Linked DNA regions of Homo sapiens: region 2 is linked to region 1. The links are contacts of gene promoters, found by promoter capture Hi-C in blood cells and fetal thymus (Javierre and others, 2016). All regions are on one chromosome and are shown on one strand. The core of a region is centred on a gene start or on the middle of the fragment in contact, and the rest is flanking DNA. Distances in the headings are between cores, read along the strand shown. Region 1 holds the start of PLEK2 (pleckstrin 2). Region 2 overlaps PLEKHH1 (pleckstrin homology, MyTH4 and FERM domain containing H1).

Region 1 (4,138 bases), core at 1,026-3,525:
TGTCTCCATCCTCTTCCCTATGGGTGAGTTGGGCTTATGTCATCATGGTTCCCTGGTGGGCTGGTGGCTCAGCCACCACAGCCTGGGGAAGGAAGGGGTATGACTCATGCCCCAGATCCAGTGAGTCAGGCAGGGTGGGCTGGACCAGGGGTTTCCTAGGACAGGAAGCAGGTTCTAGGTGTGCCTTAACTTCTTCCTGGCAGGAGCCCTGCCAGGAGAAGGTATCCATCTCTTTCCCATTCCCATTTCTGTGAATTCATTCAAGAACCCCTCCTGCCAAAGAAAATGCCACTTCTTCTAAGCCTCAGAAGATTGTGTCTGGGTGGGGCCAAGACAGCCTCTTTGAGGAAGGAGATGGATAGACCACAGTTAGAGCCGAAGAGGATGAGAACTTCCCAGCTCAACCTCTCAAGTCCTGGCTTTCAGCCCAGCTAGGTTTCAGAGCTGGGACAATTCCTTAGGAGGCAAGAGTATTTGCAATGCCCTGGAGCTGCATAACCTTGGGCAAGTTATTTAACTACTTGGATTCAGTTTCCTTGACTGGAAAATGACATAATAAACACCTCATGGGGTTGTTGTACTTTAGATAAAACCTAGCACCTACTACTACAGGCCTGGCTTCAGAAGGTGACCAGCTGATGTTCATTCTGAATTGGAATGGAAGCCCCACTGCTTTGGGGCTTCCTGGGAAGTCTGAAGGCCAGTTAGTGCAGAAGGCTAGAGTGGGCCATTGGGCTGGCACGCAGTGACCCAGACCCTGCGAGTTTTCCTTGGGGCTGGCAGGTGGGAGTGGGGTTGGGGGGATGTAATATGTCTACTACAGACATGTAGAAGCAACACTGTGTCAAGAGCTCCAGGGCAGGGACTGGCCTGGGAGCTGGCTTCAGTCTGGTTCTGAAAGGCACCCCCCGCCTTCCACAAGCTGGTTCACCTTCTTCCTCTCTAGAGCCTTCTCTTCCCTTACAGGCATCTGAGGGCCTTTCCCATGCCTGGTGAAGAGTCCTGACAGGGCCCTTCAAACTGGAGCACAAATAATATGGACCGGCCCCATGACTCATGCCCACAATCCCAGCACTTTGGGAGGCTGAGGCAGGAGGACTGCTTGAGCCCAGGAGTTCGAGACCAGTCTGGACAATATAGTGAGACCCTGTCTCTATAAATAAAAATAAATTTTAAAAAAATGTGTGACTGTGTTCTAAGGATTGTTAGACAGAATCAGTACTATTTGACTGAGTTTCCTTCTGTTCCAGGCTCCAATATGGCCTGATAGAACATTGTTGTTGATCCTATCTATTTAAAATGTTAGCATTTTGTTCATCGTGGATTTTTTGACATTAATTTTGATTTTAAAAAATGCATTAAAATATTATTTTTCTAGGTCTTACACGGTGGCTCTTGCCTGTAATCCCAGCACTTTGGGAAGCCCAGGCCGGAGGATTGCTTGAGGCCAGGAATCAAGACCAGCCTGGGCAACATAGCAACACCCTATCTCTACGAAAAATAAAAATAAACCAGCCAGGCATGGTGGTGCACTCCTGTAGTCCTAGCTACTTGGGGAGCTGAGGCAGGAGGATCTTAAGCCCAGAGTTTAAGGCTGCAGTGAGCTATGATCACACCACTGCACTCCAGCCTGGGTGACAGAGAAAGACCCTGTCTCAAAAAACAAACAAAAAACCCCAAAAAACCAATCATCTCTCTCTATATATAATTTGTCTAGGTTACTGGACTCCTTGGTGCCCCCTTAAATTTTGTCCTTAATGATGGAATTTTCGGCTTCATCTTTTTTGAGGGAGCGGGGTATATCCTGCGGACAGGGGGCCCTGCAAACTGTGCCTGCCGCCTTAAAACTGTGACCTTCCTGTTACTGAGAGGTCTTCTCTGCCCCCATCAGAGGCCAGGATAAAATTCCCATACCAGTTTCGGCTCACCCACTGTCCCATCTCCTACTTGCAATGAGCTCAGGAATGGCTCCAAATCCTGGAGTCCTGTCGGTTATGTTCAATTCGATAAGCGTTCCTCGAGGGCAATGCGCTAAGTGCCCGGGAAGCACCTGGCGAAGGACGCTGAGCAGAGAGACTGGAACAGTGAGGGGCGCGGGGCGCACCTGGATGGGGCGGGGTTGGCCGCTCTGTACCTGGAGGACCAACCACCGACCCTGGAGCACCTTTGGGTGGAAACGTCACGTCAGAAATCCCGACTTGGTCTGACTTCCTGCCCCGGGGCCTCAGGCTCTGGACACGCGCCAGGGAGGCGTCGCCCTGCCGCGTCGGAGCTGCTTCCTGGGCGCCGTGGGCGCGGACTGCGCGGGCTGCGCGGGTGCCGAGGAGCGCGAGGCGCGGGGAAGGCGCACCTGGGGTGGCCCTGGCGTGCGGGCGGCGACATGGAGGACGGCGTGCTCAAGGAGGGCTTCCTGGTCAAGAGGGTGAGTGCGCGTCGAGCTTCGGGACATTGCCCGGGTGGGGCCCCGCCGACGCGGCTCCCTAGAGCGGGGCCAGACGCGCGCCCCGGAACGGGCATGCTCTGGTTCCCATCCCCAACCCCCATGGTGGGACCGGGCCGCCTGTGGCCCTGATGGGCAGAGCTGCATGTCCGAGGGGACGCGGGGTAAGCGGTGGCTCAGCGCACAGGCAAGGAGGAGAATCCCACTTGGTTAGCGCAGTATGGAGTCGGGGCAGGGGTACTGAAGCGTGTGTCTTAATTAAAACTTGTTAAAATATTATGAATGGTATGATATTTAAATAATATTTACTAAGATAATATAGGCGTGCTCTGTAATTTACAACCTGTGAAGGAGGAATGCTACTATGTGTCTTAAGCACTTACTGTTGGCCAGCCCTGGATATTGTCTCATGTCATCCTCCCAGCAGCCCTGCTTTCATCAAGGGGGAAAACGAAGCCCAGAGGAGTTAGGGAACTTGCTCGGGGCGGTGAAGGCAGTGGGTGGTGGAGCCAGGATCGGGATCAGACCCACTCAGGTTGACCCAAACCTTTACTGCCTCCCCAGTGCCATACACGGTGGGTACTGACATCACTCTATTACAGACGGGGAAACTGAGGACCAGAAAGATGAAGTAGCTTGCCCAGAGCTCCAGAGCCAGTAATAGCTGGGACAGGAACTGCATGTTCTGACCTCCCCTCCTCAGTCCTTCCCCACCACCCCAGGTGGCCCAGGGCAAACGAGTGCAAACAAAAACTCAGTGCCTGGGATTATGGTAGAAGATGAACAAAAGAGCAGCTGCAAAAGGAAGTTTGTTATTTCAAAATTTTTTCCTGATTTGACCTTTTTTTTTTTTTTTTTTTTTTGAGACAGGGTCACCCAGGCTGGAGTGCAGTGGCACAATCCTGGCTCACCACAGCCTCGACTTCCCAGGCTCAGGTGGTCCTCTCACCTCAGCTTCCCTAGTAGCTGGGACTACAGGTATCCACTACTATGCCCAGCTAATTTTTGTATTTTTTTGTGGAGACAGGGTTTCGCCATGTTTCCCAGGCAGGTCTTGAACTCCCGGGTTTAAGTCATCTGCCCACCTTAGCCTCCCAAGGTGCTGGGATAACAGGCGTGAGCCACCACACAGAGCGTAATTTGAACAATGACATTAACACTAACCATTTATACTGCTATGATGGCATAGCAAAGAGACATATAAATCCAGGGCTGAGCTTTCTGGTTCTTCTACTGAGTTTTCAGCTTTGGGAGGGGAATGAAGAGGGATGAGGGGCCCTTCCTTTCATTGCCTCCCGGGGTGGCTGGATCAGCCCTAAAGTCTCACATCACTTTCATTTTCCCCACAAAATGTGTCCACATGATGTTGCACGTTATTTGGTACAGGAGAGCGGTGGCTGTTTGCTGTAAACAGTAAGCAAGGAGGGTAGAAGCTGATGCCAGATCAAGGGTCAGACTGGATAGAGCAGTACAAAGCGCCACGCCCACTTGCCACTGTGGCTGAACTGATAGGCCGGTTTCTCGCAGCATGTGGAGGTGGCTGCACCTCAGACTACACATGGGGAGCTCCTAATCTCACATTTAACTGCGGCTTGGGAGGTGGGAGGGAGAGTGAGAGCTGGGCACGGGGCTTTTTGTTGGCACTGTTGATATAGCTGGGCCCTGGTAGAGCCTGTGGAGGGATGAAGTTAACATGGA
Region 2 (3,847 bases), core at 760-3,259, 170 kb before region 1:
GTGACAGGAGACCCTTGGCCTTGGGGCTCTGGCCACCTACTAACCATCTCAAAGGCAGAGGCGATCATTCTTTTGATGTCCCTAGAACCCATGCTGCCACAGCACACTGGATGGAAAGCTCTGTGCTACAGAATAGAGGCCAGCCCTAGCTGCTCTGTTAGGGGAATGGGGAACAGCTGGTTTTCTCCTAGTCTTGGAAACACGGCATTCCACCTATAGTCTCCAAGCCGAAGTGCTTCTGACTTCAGCCAATCTCCTAGGTGCTGTAAAAGAAATAGGAAAGCAAGAATGCAGTCCTGTGGCTTTAGGCCCTATCAGTAAGAAAGTGACTATTTAGTGGACATTCCTGTAATGACTAATTTTCACTGCCAGGACTACAGTATGGTAATCCAGAAAATCTCTCTCTTAACCCAAAGGGAGGCAGATAGACATTGGACATGCCACCTTTTTCAGAAGCTTTTCCTAAGCTCCCAGACCAAGTGGGTCCCTGTTATATGCCTTTATAACACCTCTGTACATCTTCATAGCATTTGTGATGGCTTATAAATATATATTAAATACATAGAGAAAAAAATGAATACGATTATTTGATGAATATACATCTCCTGCACTAGATGGGAAGCTCCAGGAAGGCAAGGACTGTGTCTGATTTTCTCACTTCTTATAACCTCAAACAACCAGCACTGGACATAGTAGGAGCTCAACTATTTGTTGAATGAATGAATGGCCATTTTCCGATCTGTGGCTTCAGTAAACAGGATCACTGCCCAGCTTTGAGCTGTAATTATCTATAAAGTTTATGCACAACAGACACCCAGTGAAGAAAAGTTCCTTCTGAAATTACTGTTGGCCACCTGGCCTTCATACAGAGGTGAAATTAACTGTTGGCTAAGTAATTTGATTCCCCTGTATGCCATGTCAAACCAGTGGAGATGTATTTGTTTAGGTTATACATTGTTCTTTCAAACTTTAAAAAAAATGAAAGCACTCTTGAGAGGGCTGTTATTTCAAGTCTGAATCTTTGTGTGTGTGAATTAGTTGATCACATCTTTTCTTTTGGGGCAGTCAACAAAGGACAAATGAAGATAAGCAATCACAATTCTGCTCTGGACTGTGGAAAGCTGGACTAGGCCAGAAACAGTGGAGGGATAGTGACCTCTGGTGGTTACTGGTATGGAGGTAGGGGCTGCAAATTGGTATGGCTCAAACATGAGCAGTTGGGGACACACCTAAGGGTGTGGGCAGCTCCTTCCACTGGCACTTACCTGAGCAGCAAAAAGTTTAGCACCAAAGAAAGGCCATTTCCTGGCCACGGTCAGGTAGATGCGGATGCACTCAGGAGGGGAGCATCCTTGCAATGTTGCCCATTTTGTGGTCAACATATCTGCCAGGTGCCTGGTGTGGGCAGATGGAGAGAAATAGTGCCAATGAAGTGCCGACGTGTCTTCATTCCAGGCCTGAGACCTCCCCACAGTGACTTGCTGCAAGACCTTGTAGCCTACCTACCTCAGCTGTTCAGCGGGGGCCCCATGTCTATAGCGCCTGGGGTGGAACCTGTCTAGGACCTGCTGGAGAAGATGCTGAGCCTTGGCAGGGGATGTGCCTCCAGGGCCTGGCAGGGCAGGCTTCTCCAAGTCCCCATATTCTACCTGTGGTAGAAGCATATGAAGAGACCAGTCAAAATCTGACAGTGGATGGGCCAGGTGGGGGCTGTTGAGAGGTGAAATAAACCATTTCTTTATTACCCTATTGGTGGGGTGCGAGTGGTTGTGAAAAATACTTTAGAAAAACGCTTCATCTCAAGTTTTATAGACACTAGAGAAACAAACTTAGGGCCCTCGAATATTAGAGATCACCGACCAACTTTGATTTTGCAGCTGAGGTGAAGTGCCTTTTCCAAAGACACAGTTAATTGGTAGCCGACAAGGGAAAACAATGTGGAAATTCTGGCTTCCAGTCCAAAAATATGGGCTATAGAATTGAAGATGCTACAGATCCTAGAGTACAGCAGAGTGTTCCAAATGTGGCCTTTGGAGTTGGACACCTGGCGCAAATCCCAGCTTTGTGTCCCTGATCAAGTTACTTAAACTCTCTGAGCTTCAATTTCCTCATCTATTAGGTGGGAATAAAAACTACAATGGAGGATGCATATATGCTTAGTACAGGGCCTCCTAGAGAGTATTCCTATTGATATTTATAAAGATCAACTATTACTGTTTCCTCTTCCTTTCCAGCATGTAAATCCAGATTCTTATTCTTTTTTAAAAATTTTTAATTTTTAATTTTTGTGGGTATATAGTAGGTGTCAGACTCTCTTATGGGAGTCATGAAGGTATCCCAGATACCTTTGGCAAGATGGCCTTCTAAATATAATGGGAAGGAGAGTCCAAGTCTGAATGTGTGTTCCTCTTCCTAAGTCTACTTAGAAGGTCTGATGGTTTATGAAGTTTACCACATACATTACATGATACAATTATCCAGGTATCATACTTAGTACAACCCTGTGGAGGCTGGCAGAGGTTTTTGTTTGTTTGTTTGTTTTGTTTTGTTTTGAGACAGAGTTTTGCTGTTGTCGCCTAGGCTGTAGTGCAATGGCATGATCTTGGCTCACTGCAACCTCTGCCTCCCAGGTACAAGTGATTCTCCTGCCTCAGCCTGCCGAGTAGCTGGGATTACAGGCGCCCACCACCACACCCAGCTAATTTTTATTTTTATTTTATTTTATTTTATTTTTTTTCAGTAGAGACAGGGTTTCACTGGTCAGGCTGGTCACGAACTCCTGGCCTCAGGTGATCTGCCCGCCTCGGCCTCGCAAAGTGCTGACATTACAGGCATGAGCCACTGCTCCCGGCCAAGTATTTTTTATTTTGGTATACTGAGAAGGAAACTAAAGCATAGAGAAGTGAAGTGACTTGGCTAAGACCTCATAGTTGGAAGGTATATAGGACTCAAACCCAGGTCTCTGGATTCCAAGTCCAGCCATCTGCACGCATCCTATATCTGCGGTGAGTGAGGAGCTCTGATCTGTAGAAGTCAGCTGCTTTCCATCCCAGAGATGGCAAAGCTGCCCTCTCCTGAGCACCACAGGATCTGCAGAATCTCTCCTGTGTTTCAGGCTGCATGGTGCATTCATTCTAAGCTGGCAACCCGACCCTCCTGCTTCCTGAACAGAACCTTACCTGGGCCATCAGGGCAGCCATCTCAAGAGCCAATTCCTTGTTGATAGGAAACCTCCCTGCCACTATCTCTCTACTGGTTTGAGAGGCAAGGAGCAGCCGTTCTCGGTCCGTCTCCCCTTTGACTTGACTGCGAAAGTACAGCCTACAAAGAAGAGAATAAGAAACCAGGACTCAGCAGGGATTCCAAACAGGGATGGGGCTTTCTCTGGGTCTGTTACCTTTATTTCCAAAAAGATAAAGTACTCTTTTCCCACTATTTATGAGCCTATTTTGTATTGCCTCCAGAAACATATAACCGAGTATGACACAGAGCAGATGCAGGGTCATGCTGATCTCATACCAACAGGAGGGCATGGTTCATTCTGAAGATACCATTAAGCTTACTGGATTTAGTAAGGGAAATCTGGTACCTGGAGTTATAGATTAGGGGACTGGATGAGGTAAGAGTCCAAGAGACTACTGGAAACTATTTGCCTGGAGACATACTGAGATGGAGGGATGGGATTTTCTTACTCAAATTGATAGAAAGTCAGGATGTCTACTTCTGTATTTCCTGGAATTGGTATAGGAAGTACTTAGTCTTTAGCTATAACTAGCTGGTGCTTATACAAAATTTCACTCTCATAAAGTAACACACTTAGCCATCCCATGAGGTTGGTCTATTTTCT

The links. Contacts are between HindIII fragments. The CHiCAGO score rates a contact against its expected background, and 5 or more counts as called.
Region 2: a contact is called between a fragment that was not itself captured here and the fragment with the promoter of PLEK2 in region 1, in 12 of 17 cell types (naive B cells, M0 macrophages, fetal thymus and 9 more). The highest score is 9.1, in naive B cells.

The regions. Positions count from the first base shown.
Region 1 is chr14:67,410,302-67,414,439 of GRCh38, reverse strand. It overlaps PLEK2 (pleckstrin 2), which reads left to right and starts at 2,275. Exons shown (of 9, transcript NM_016445.3): 1 at 2,275-2,422. The coding sequence starts at 2,381. It also overlaps a transcript of GPHN not described here. The HindIII fragment of the contact is 5,074 bases long and covers 1-4,138 here.
Region 2 is chr14:67,581,543-67,585,389 of GRCh38, reverse strand. PLEKHH1 (pleckstrin homology, MyTH4 and FERM domain containing H1) reads right to left here. Exons shown (of 29, transcript NM_020715.3): 24 at 3,180-3,321; 25 at 1,507-1,649; 26 at 1,266-1,395. It also overlaps a transcript of GPHN not described here. Among named protein-coding and RNA genes, the nearest start is that of PIGH, 17 kb to the left of the region's middle. RefSeq lists a silencer at 1,062-1,111. The HindIII fragment of the contact is 3,102 bases long and covers 459-3,560 here.